2 separate regions of the Homo sapiens genome follow, and region 1 is linked to region 2. The links are contacts of gene promoters, found by promoter capture Hi-C in human tissues and cell types (Jung and others, 2019). All regions are on one chromosome and are shown on one strand. The core of a region is centred on a gene start or on the middle of the fragment in contact, and the rest is flanking DNA. Distances in the headings are between cores, read along the strand shown. Region 1 overlaps EOLA2-DT (EOLA2 divergent transcript). Region 2 holds the start of MTMR1 (myotubularin related protein 1).

Region 1 (6,351 bases), core at 2,799-5,298, 720 kb after region 2:
AGGAAGTCATGCCACGGTCATGTGGGGGATGGGTCACAGAGCTGCCAAATGTTTTAACAATGCATCTAAATGAAGCCTCATGATCACTTGAGTAATACAGAGAACTGGGTCTGAGTCCTACTTCCACAGCTAACTGGCCTTGTGATGTTAAATAAAGCCCTTCCCTTCTCTCAGCCTCAGACATAGGATCCAGACTGGCTTTGCCCAGCCCTGACGCTCTGGGATTTTATGATATTCCAGAATTCCATATTTAAGTGAAGAATCATGGTCACATCGTCCATCACAGATAGATGCTAGAGGAAAATAAAGGAAACCTTTATGTTGTTCCTGCTGGCATGTTTCCATGCTTTCCTTCAGAAGCTTGAAGCATTTTAATAACTTATTCCATTGGATTCACAGCAGAAAAACAAAAAGGAAATTAATCTTGAAGAAATCATATGTCTCTGCAATCTTTGAATATATGTTAGTAAGGTTCCAGCTACTTCTGCACACTGGCAGCCCTTACTGACTTCTGGATCCAGAAAGAGAGAGAGAACAGCATTTGCCTGTTTGGAAGGAGGGAGGTGGTCTTTAGGGAATAAGATCAGGGAGTCAGGGAGGAGGAAGAAGCATTTGCAGTAGTCTAGATAGAGATAAGATAATGAGGACCTGAACCAAGGCCACATCAATGGAGGTAGAAAGAAAAAGACAGACGCGAGAGACATTTAGGAGAACAAACTGACAGGACTGTGCGCTGACTGATGTTCCAGAGGAGGGAGGGGGAGATGGCATACATGATGGTGCCACTATCCAAGTTATGACTGAGGAGAAAAAAGATTTGAGAGGCAAGAAGACAGATTATAGGTTGGAATGTTGACTGTGAGATGTCTGGGGTCATCGGGTAGAAATGTCCAGCAAGCCTTTGGTTATACTGGTATAAAGTCACACAGGCCTAGGCAAGTCAAATGTAACCACAAGATTAACTTGGAAGTCCTCAGCATATAGGGCCTCTGCCTCCTTATAATTATACCACATTGCCTCATTTATTCATTAAACTACTTAAAGTCCCTCCCAAAAAATATTTACAGTCCCTACTTACTTTGCTACGCAAAAGGATATATGGGTTAATATTTGAGGTGGTGGATATGTTAATTAGCTTGATTTAATCATTCCACATTGTCTTCATAAATCATAACATCACTTTGTACCCCATAAATATATGTAACTACAATTTGTTAATTTACAATTAAAAAATAAAAATTTTGTAAAATAATAAATAAAATATAGGCATGGTCTCTGTCCTTGTATAGCTTACATTCTAGTGGGGGAGACAAGTTTTTTTAAAAAATACAAGTATAATTTTAAATTGTGATAAATACTATGGAGAAGACAAATAGGTACAGTGATCAAGAATACTAGGGGGAAAAAGAGAGACTTATCTGAAAAGGCCTTTAAACCAAGGTTTGAAGGGCATTCCTGGACAAGGCAACAGACTACGTGAAGACCTAGAGGCAGGAAGAATTTAGTCACAAGGCTGGGAGACCCATTACCTTGGTCTCTGTGCTATGCCTAGAATACTTGCTGCTGCTGTTACTGACATTTAAATGATAGTGGCTGGGCGCGGCGGCTCACACCTGTAATCCCAGCACTTTGGAAGGCCGAGGCGGGCGGATCACAAGGTCAGGAGTTCAAGACCAGTCTGGTCAACATGGTGAAACCCCGTCTCTACTAAAAATACAAAAATTAGCTGGGCATGGTGGTGTGTGTCTGTAATCCCAGCTACTCGGGAGGCTGAGGCAGGAGAATTGCTCGAACCAGGACCTGGGAGGTGGAGGTTGCAGTGAGCTGAGATTGCACCACAGCACTCCAGCCTGGGCTACAGAATGAGACTCCGTCTCAAAAAAAAAAAAAAAAAAAAAAGATAGTAATGAAGTACTACAATAAGAATAAGACATGATCATAAAATTATACCAAAGCCAAAGCACTTAATGCCTATGAAATGGTGTTTAACAGTTTTATATTGTCACTGATGGGGCCGGATACAGATGGTTACATTAGTTGGATATAATATTAACTAGGCAAAACTTTAAATAAAATTGCTACAGAGATCTGCATTCCATTACCAATAGCTCTGATTGCCTAAATCACACTAGCATACTGAAGCCACACTCTGGGCAAAGCCACCATTCTGTAGAGTTTCTGTCAAACACTGTTATTGAGGAAGCAATACTTAAAATAACATTCCTTTTAATGATTAGAGTTGGCACAAACTGCAGGACAGAAAAAAATTCTATATAGCCACTGGGGAAAGGATAAGTAGGTTGTGTTTTGCAATTCCTTCCTGGTGAGTTTACAATTATTCCACAGCATGACAGCTAAAATGCCTAAGAAATCACTTACCTGAATCTCAATAATAATTAGTCCCCTATTCTTTGTATGTTCACCATGAGTTCTGTTGACCTCACCACATGGAAAGATTAAGTTTACCCATTTACAGTTCTAAGTATTTATTCCTTACAGGCAAACAAAAGTATGCTGGAGGTTTAACAATTTCTGGCCAACAGTGTGTATTTTAACTAGGATGTTTAAGATGCATCGGTTGAATAATTAATGTATAAATCTTAGCCAGCTGGGTAAGGAAAATGAAACAAGCTTTATTTGTTATAGATATAGATTTAGCTATATTAAAGTCTTTCTGCTTTTAAGATGAAGTCTCTATGTCAAAAAAAAGCCAAAATACAGAAATACTCCTGTTCGTAGTGTAATTAAAAAGGAAATTAACAAATTGTGTTAATTTGCTGTACTCGTAATTTGGCTGAAGACTGTGGTGTTGCAGTATTACCATTTGGGTGTAGGAAAGCATGCAAATGAATCTACCAGCACTTATCAACTCTTCACTTATTTCCTCATTTGTTAAACTATTCAGAAACGTGTGGCCTGCCTATAGTAAGCTATAATTAGGGCTACTTTTAATAATTAAGGGCTATTTTTAAAATTAACATTTTAAAGTCCACTGGTAGCCCTTACATCTTTTGTCTCACACTGGCAGGACCAACAGGGTGCCAGTTCAGAAGAAGCAAGAAGAAGCACTTAATTTTACTGTAGCCCTCAGCAAATGAGCCATGTGTGATTTTGGCAAAGGAGGAAGGTCACCCAGCTTGCTGGTGGTATGTGCGTCACTAGGGGGTCTATCAACTCCATCAGAGTCCCTGGAACACAGTGAACCTCTGGTTTAGTACTGGTATGTAAGATATTGCATCTCAGAGGTCAAGGAGCACAACTGTTCAACCCTATTCAATTTGCTTCCTGCCATTTCCACAAATGCTAAAAAGTTGACTGTCTTCAACACTCCTGGCTCTAACGAAGAAGCTGGGGAAAGGATTTTACTATTTATAGTTTAGTTTTGACTCTCAGGGTTTTCATAGGTTCAACTCAAATGTAGTGCTTAGGGTATATTTATTTTTCTCAAGTCAAAAAAGCCAAATGCCAAAGCCACAGAATTCTTTTCTATGCTTTAGAACTCACAACTGATAGATGAACTATACATCTGTGCCTCCTTGATCCTCATTGTATATATGGGGAAACTGAGGCACCAAACATTTAGATGACTTGCCTAATGTTTCATGGCCAATTAGTGGCAGAGCACTGGCTAAAACCCAAGCCTCTTGCCCCCTCTCCCACAAATCTCCATGGAGAGCTCTTCCCAGCACACTATATCACCCCCACCAAAAGTGAGACTGCTATAAAATGTCTGGACATGAGTTGTATAGGGTAATTTACTGATACAAAGAAAGATCCACAGGGTTGTCAGTGAATAGACACTCAGGCTTTTAAAGAATGGCCTGCTTACTGAGCTGCTCAGCCTCTCCCTGGGGTCAGACCAAAGTTTAACAATGTGTTGCATTAAGAAAGATACTGAGGGGTCCCCCACAAGGTCGGACACCATGGCTCAACCAGGGTTTGGCTGGCTTAGACTTGTTCCTTACAACTGTTACCTCTAACCCTGACCCAACTGCCTGTGATCTGGCTCAAGACCAACACTCTTTGGCTCCTCCCTTGGTTCATTTTTAGATTCTTACTCTTTCTTCCTCCCTCCCAGCTTCCATCCCTCCATAATTCCTCTGTTCTTGAATCCTCTACCCTACCTGCCCCCTCATCCCAGGATTCAAAGTCCAGGACGCCACAGCTGGAGTACTCTCTCCCTTGGTGCACTAGTTCTTGTAGATGAGAACCAGAAGTGTGGAGTAAGGTAGGGAAGGCAAGAGTATTTAAACATCTTTACTTTTTCAAAAAATCAACTAGAAGGTTCTATCAATTTCCTTCCACAAGAAGGAATTGCAAAACACAACCTACTTATGCTTTCCCAATGGCAACCTTTTTCATAGATACAGTACAATGAAAAAATAATCAAAAGCTGACCAAGGGCTTTGCAAACATCTTGAAGGGCCTATGGAAGCATCAGGAAGATGAAATTTTATTCTACCATAATTAAGACTGAATGTACTTTCCTAAATTCTTGACTTTTCAAAATTGTTCACCTCTATATGGTTTACAGCAACTTATTCCTTGTAGAATATTTTCTAGGTATAAAATCACTATTATTTGGGGCTATTGTTTTTGTGATTTTTTTCAAAGAGCCAGGAAGACACCTCAACAATCATAAAGATAATTCCTCATTAAATGGCATGAGTAGAGATCTTTCATTTAGCGAAATAAGCTTTCTGTAGGGAAAGTTACCCAGAAAATTAGAACTTGTTTAGCAAATGTGTGTCACATCAGTGATTGGCAATAAAATAAACACAGGAAAGTATAAATTCAATTCATGCCATTTCTAAATTTGTGATAACTCAGTCATGGCTGGCATATTTCACCTTTCCTCTATCAATTAAAGAAAGAGCTAGGTCAAATGGTATTTCTAGTTCTAGATCCCTGAGGAATCGCCACACTGACTTCCACAATGGTTGAACTAGTTTACAGTCCCACCAACAGTGTAAAAGTGTTCCTATTTCTCCACATCCTCTCCAGCACCTGTTGTTTCCTGACTTTTTAATGATTGCCATTCTAACTGGTGTGAGATGATATCTCATAGTGGTTTTGATTTGCATTTCTCTGATGGCCAGTGATGATGAGCATTTTTTCATGTGTTTTTTGGCTGCATAAATGTCTACCATTTGACCCAGCCATCCCATTACTGGGTATATACCCAAATGACTATAAATCATGCTGCTATAAAGACACATGCACACGTATGTTTATTGAGGCATTATTCACAATAGCAAAGACTTGGAACCAACCCAAATGTCCAACAATGATAGACTGGATTAAGAAAATGTGGCACATATACACCATGGAATACTATGCAGCCATAAGAAATGATGAGTTCATGTCCTTTGTAGGGACATGGATGAAATTGGAAACCATCATTCTCAGTAAACTATCGCAAGAACAAAAAACCAAACACCGCATATTCTCACTCATAGGTGGGAATTGAACAATGAGATCACATGGACACAGGAAGGGGAATATCACACTCTGGGGACTGTGGTGGGGTTGGGGGAGGGGGGAGGGATAGCATTGGGAGATATACCTAATGCTAGATGACGAGTTAGTGGGTGCAGCGCACCAGCATGGCACATGTATACATATGTAACTAACCTGCACAATGTGCACATGTACCCTAAAACTTAAAGTATAATTAAAAAAAAAAAAAGAAAGAGCAACAACAGGTTTCTGAGTAAATTAAGAGTATAAACATGAGCTCTTAGGGGATGTTTAACCCAGTTCAGAGAACAACTCTTTCCAAGCTCTCTAACAAATTCATTTGCATATAAATAATTAGTGTGCTGATTTCAAATGACCTTTACCTACTCATTGGAGTATACTCGATCAAGACCTCTACTTGGCAATATTTTGTTAGCTTTTTATAATATCATTTCTGCTTGAAAATAAGAAAAAAATTATTATTTTAAAGAGATCTCATTAAAGAACATTAAGAAAATGTCTGTCCATAAATGCCTCATGCAGTAAGACATGAGGCAGTTTGCCCCATTATTCAGGGTATATAAACCAAGTCTCCACTTAGGATCCAAAATGCCCAGTACTTTAAGAGAGTCAAAGGGAAAGACCATGCGCTTGTATTGCTTTTACAATTTAAAAAATCTACTTAGTGTAGAAAATTTCAGAAAATAGGTAGATAAGTGTTCTAGTAACTCAAATTCTATCTGAGCCTGAAAGGTAACTCAGAGGTCATGCAGGATGACCCAACCCCTGACAACAAAACGCTCAGCATATGCCCAGAAACCTGGCTTTTGCTTAAGGATATCCAGAGCCTCAGAGCTTCCCATCTCCCAAAGCTCTTCCCATCATCCAACA
Region 2 (5,825 bases), core at 2,423-4,922:
GCAGAAACCCAACTGCTGAGCATGAGTGTGACCTGCTATTACCACCTGCCTGCCCGGCATGCCTTCCCCCTTCTTCTGATAAAGACCTTCCTCTTTACTTTGGGAACTGCCCTTCCCCACAACACAGGCTTCTGTGGGGGAAAGCGGAGAAGAAGGTTGACCCCTTCCTCCACCTGCTCCCACTTGTAGGTGAGTTACCTAGGACCAGCCAATCCCAGACTTTTCCCCTTGGATCCTGAAATACATGGATCTGTATCCAGAGCTGCTGGAGGCCACTCCCCACCCCACCCCACCCCTACCATCTTAAGGAACTCACAGCGATTAAAAAGTGAGGGAAAATAAAAGAGAGAGGGAGAGAGAGATGGGGAGTCCCGACAACACTGTTTGCAATCCTGACCTCAACTGTGCCTGTGGCCATCTCTCCTCCTGTCTGGAGCAGTTCTGTGAGCCAGGGCATCTCATTTGCCTTAAGCTAGATTGAACTGTGGTTTCTGTCACCTGCAACCAGAAGCATCCTGGCCAATGTAGTTACACACAGTGAAGCACAGTGGGTTAGCAGACAGGAGGCCTGGACATGAGTCCTGCTTCTGTCACCAGCTAACTCCATGATCTTTGGCAAGACACATCCTCTTACAGGACCACAGCTTCCTCATTATTAATTACAGTATTCAGAAGAGAAGTGAAGGCCCCATAGTCCCAGGGACATGGCCAAGTCCCACCCATAGAGCCAGGTTCCATTCTAGAGGTCACTCTTCAAAGAAAAGTGTGAATCTGAGCTTGTTGAGCTGACAGAACTGAGAAAGGAGGCCATGATTCCTCCCCCATCCCTTCTCTGTAGTCTGTGCAATTGCCCTCTATACTCCTGGTGTCAATAACTACTTACAGGCTGGAGGCTCCCAGCTCTGTTTCTCCAACCTGGACTCTCCTGATCTCAATGCTGATGTTCCTACAAGACCTGTCCACTAGTCTGGCCCAGAGACCCTGCCAATTCAACCTGTCTAAACCAGCATCAGCCGCTCAGCCCCGCAACCTACTCTGCTCCTGTGTTTCCTAACTCAGGGCGCAGCACAGCCAGTTATCCGGCCCCCACACGCTAGAAAGCTGAGGTTTGCCTTGGAGTCCACCCGGCACTCCCCCCTCACATCTGAATGCTCACCATGTCGGGTCACTCTTACCTGGTAAGCATCTTGAAAATCCACCCAGCCCTATTCCTAGCCCAATTCCCTTTTCCAGACCTCCATCATTCTTCTGTGAACTCCACCTGCCTCATGAATTTAAGCCTCATCTATAAGCCCATGACTCCCCAGTTTGAATCTCCAGCCCAGACAACCCTGAACTCCAGGCTCAGATAGATCAACTATATCTTTGACATCTATTCTGGGACATATAATTGGCATCTCAAAATTGATATGTCCAGAGCGAAGAGCCTGCTATTTTCTAACCCTGCTCCACCTTAGAAAGACTTCTCCATCTCAGCAACACAATTTTCCCACAAGCTAAAATTTTGGAATTCTCCCAGATTCTTCTCTCATACCAACCAACCAATCTTCAGCAAACCCCATTGGCTCTACCCTGCAGGTCTTCAAATTACATGTAGTATCTGACCACTTCTCCCCTCCTCCGCTCCACTCTGGACCACCATCTCACTTGGCTTACTACAATAGCCTCCTACTGACAGTCTCTGCTTCAGCTCCTTCCCCTTTCACTCTATTGTCCACATAGCACCATGGAGAGCCTACTGAAATCTACAACAGATGATGTCACTCCTCTGCACAAAGTCCCCAGTGGCTCCCCATGGCCTCTGAGGCTCTCCACCATCTGGCTCTGTGACTTCTCTAACGTCATCCCTTACTTGTCTCTCCCTAGCTCCCTCCCTGCTAGTGACACCTAGTCTCCTCGCTGATCTAGGAACACTTGGCTCACATTCACCTCAGGGGCTTTGCACAGGCCTCTGACTAGAATACTATCACCCCCAGGTATCTGTATGGCTGGATCCCTCGCCTCTTTGGGGGCATTACTCAAATGTCAGCTTTCTCAGGCTTTCCCTGATCATCAAAATCTCTGAAGGAAACCAGAAGATGAGGCATATTTGGGGGTGACACATTCTGGTCTCCTTTGGCTTCTTAAATGATTCTGATGCATGCCCATCCTGAGTACTTCTGTGTTCGCCTCTACCACCTATCTCATTTATCACATTCGATTTCCACTGTTGGTTGGTTTGTATTCTCCACTAGATGGTAAGTCTAGCAAAATGGTAAGGCAGCAAAAGCCGTGTTGTGCTATTCTCTGAATCGCCCAGACCTCGTGTGTGGTTGAATATTTGCAGATGAGTGAAGTCCTCACCATTTCAAGTGCTGTCTTAGCTGTGACTGGTTTTCAGTGACACTAACCACTTGGGTGATTAATTTATTAAAATATATTGTAATTACACTGAGGTAGAAACAAAAGTGAAGGGAATGTTTCTTGTTTCTGTGCTTTTGGAAACTCCCAAAAGTTTGGCACAATGGGATGACCAAGACAGGCAGGAATGGGCATGTAAAACTGACTGAGCTACATTCCAACAGTGCATGCTGCCTGAGTGCACTCTGGTGTCAGGGAAATGGCCAAGTTGTGGGAAAACTGGATGTTCCGGGTTACACGATAGGCCATCTCTTGTCGTCGGAGGAGGCGGTGGCCCCTCCCAGTTCGACACGGTCACTTTATGTTTCTAACTGATTTCTCTTAGTTCTGCAGCTGCCTCAGAAGCAGTAGGCTTGCTTGTGTGTTCATGAAAACAATAAACTGGTTCCCTCAAAGTGTGAAGAACTGAAAGTAAATGGTTCTGTTTTCTTGCCTCCTGAGCAGTTTGGACGTTTTCCATCTCAGATTTTTGCCTCGATCTGCACCAGCTCCCACGCCCGCGGGGTCCCATCTCCCCGTCCTCACTCCCAACCCCCCATCAAAGACCCTAAGCAGCCACAGCAGAATTGGGGTCTTAAAACCACACGAGGCAAGGTGATGCTAGAAGAGGAGAGCCCGGGTGGGATCTCCCTCCCAAGAGGATTGGTGGCCTGGGCAGGGACAGCCAAGCGATCGCCAAGGGCAGCAGGTGGCGGCGCCGGAAGTGGTTTGACAGCTGCGAAGCCCCTCCCGGGGTTCCAGGAGCTGGGGCTCTCGGGGCGGAAGTGAGCCAGGTGCGCGGCCCGCAGCAGGTCCGAGGGCAGCAGTCCCCGGATGGGGCGCTGAGGTTTCCGGGGGTGGGGGGGAGGAGGGCCCAGAGGGGATGAAGAGGGGCCGCCCACCCCGCCACCGCCAGGCCCTGCGCAGCGCGCGGGGAGGGGGCGGGCTGGCCTCGCGCGGGGCCCTCGGGAGTCGGGGCGCGGGAGGCCGGGGCAGCCCGGGCCCCGCTTACCTGTCCAGGGTCTCCACGCTGGGCTGCCGGGAGCCGGCGGTGGCGCCCCCCGCGGCCCGAGGAGGCCTCCTGCCGCCCGCCGGCCCCGGGTTCGGGCCCCCGCCGCCCTCGCAGCCCGCCGCCGCCGCCGCCGCCGGCCTGTCCATGGCGCGCCGAGTCCTGCCGCCTTGGGGAAGCCGCCGTCGGGACGGGAGCGGCGGCCGGGAAGGTTTCGCTGCTTGCCTCCTGCCGCCCGCTCTATACCGCCCGCCCGCCTCAGGCGGCCGCCGCCATTAGCTGTCACCTGGCGGCCCCGCGTTACCCACAAGGCCGCGCGCGCGGGGGTCGGGGGGCGGGAGCGGGGGCGGGGAGGGCGGCGCGCGGGGCCGGCGCCGGGAACCCCCACCTCGCCCAGCCCCACCTGGGCGCTCGCCCACGGAGCCTTACAGCGGGGATCTGGGACCTCCTGCTCCAGCGACCTGGGTGCGTACAGAGCCACTGGGGTTCGGAATCCCCAAACGGATTATGCGTAGCGTGCTTCACTCTATAGTCACACCGGGTTGACTGCAGAGACGTGGGGTGTAAAAAGAAGTTTGAAGACATTCAAGTATCAAAAATGATTTCCCACCTCAGTTGTCCTTCCCGGAAAAGGTATAGAACAGCTCAAGCTCCCTCGGTCTTGACATCTTGAAGCAGGAGCAATTCCGTGCATTTTAGCAATTCCTCCCCACCCCATTCTTCCCTCCACTCTCCCCCTCCATACGCACCCCGCCGCCCCGCCACAAACCCACCCCCTTGCCATCTGTAGGGCAACCAAGTGTTCTGATGCCGCCCTCGGAGCTTCCGCCCATGGTTTATGTTAAGAGTAACATTTAACTTCTGTTGATTAAAAAATCACTGCTATGAACATCAAGCCAATATCTTGGTGAGGCATTTAGGACATTTGCTTTCTGGGCTAGATTTATTTCCTTGCTCATTTTGTTTGGGTTCGAATATCCAACAGCTCATCCCCTCTCACCTCACCCCTGATTAAGTTGGGAGTGGGTGTGTGGCTCGTGATTAAGCCTCTTTGCCTGTGATTGCTCTGGGTGTAGACAGGAGGCCTGCGACCCAGGTCTGGAAAAGAAGATATAAAGGGAACAATTTGCTCACTGTTAAAAGGCAGATCTGCAGACAGGGAGTTACTCATGCCCATCCCAGACCCATCCTGCCCCACCAGCTTAATAACTTCAAACTGAACTTTGAGGATATGATGCCTGAAGCCCCGACAGCCATCTTACGCACAAGAGGAGGTGAGCCTGGGGTAAGAAGATGACAGAGTGAGGAGGGCTAGGAGGAAGGAAAGGAAGATCCCCAGACAATAATAGCTCCTATCTCACACTGGAGAATCACCGACTGCAGGTTGCTGGCTTTCTAAAATTATTAAATCAAATGGTTAACCCACTGTTATGGACTGAATGTTTTCATCCCCCTGAAGTCCATATGTTGAAGCCCTAATTCCCTGTGTGATGGTATTTGGAGATGGGGTCTTTGAGAGGCAATTAGGTCATGAGGGCCAAGCTCTAGTCTGATGGAACTGGTGCTTTTTAAGAAGGGTCACCAGAGAGCTTGATCTCATGCACTCACATGCACACACTGAGAAAAGGCCGTGTGAGTACACAGCAAGAAGGTGGCCATCTGCAAGCCAGGAACAGAGCCCTTACTAGGTCCCTGCTGGACACTTAATCTTGGACTTTCCAGCCTCCAGAGTTGTGAGAAAATTTCTGTTGTTTAAGCCACCCAGTCTATGGTATTTTGTTTTGGCAGCCTAAGCACACTAAGACACCCACTTTTAGTTGGGTATTTTGTTACAAGTAGCTGCAAGCATCTTAGCTGTGCTGAGAATTGTCAGAAAGAAAACAGTGCAACTTTAAGCATATTTTAAGTACCATATTCTTTAAGAAACATTAGGCCAAAGAGGAATTCACTGTGACACTGTCATACTTCCAATTCAGTTAAGTACACTTAGGATTTAGAGGACAGAGATGAATCTGACATATCCCTGCCTAAGATGTTCACAATCCAGTGAAGGGGACAGACAAATTAACAATGACATTACAAGTTGGCAAGTGCTATAATGGGGACAATTGCACAGGATGTGGAACACCTACCCCAATCCATAGGAGAAGAGGAGGTCAGGAAAACTTCCCCAAAAAGGTGACATAAAACTGAATCTTTAAAGATGAGTAAATCCTTGATGAGGCAAAGGAGTCAAGTTATTCCAGGCAGAAGGCACAGTTATGGGCAAAGGTGTGGATTAGTAGGTATATTAATCTGTTTTGCTTTGCTGTAAAGGAATACCAGAGACCTGGTAATTTATAAAGAAAAGAAGTTTATTTTGGCTCACAGTTCTGCAGACCGTACAAGAAGCATTGTGCTGGCATCTGCTTCTGGTAAGGGCCTCAGCAAGCTTACA

Evidence for each region. The method cuts DNA at HindIII sites, captures the fragments that hold promoters and counts their contacts. A contact is called where the count stands out against the background at its distance.
Region 1: a fragment that was not itself captured here is called in contact with the fragment with the promoter of MTMR1 in region 2 in 2 of the 25 tissues and cell types used here (dorsolateral prefrontal cortex and hippocampus).

Annotation. Positions count from the first base shown.
Region 1 is chrX:149,973,155-149,979,505 of GRCh38, reverse strand. The region is part of intron 9 of EOLA2-DT (EOLA2 divergent transcript); the gene reads right to left. Among named protein-coding and RNA genes, the nearest start is that of EOLA2-DT, 38 kb to the right of the region's middle. The HindIII fragment of the contact is 5,103 bases long and covers 1,497-6,351 here.
Region 2 is chrX:150,691,243-150,697,067 of GRCh38, reverse strand. It overlaps MTMR1 (myotubularin related protein 1), which reads right to left and starts at 3,672. Exons shown (of 16, transcript NM_001306144.3): 1 at 3,392-3,672. The coding sequence starts at 3,537. RefSeq lists enhancers at 2,129-2,208, 2,229-2,328 and silencers at 3,222-3,361, 3,672-3,741. The HindIII fragment of the contact is 13,070 bases long and covers 1-5,825 here.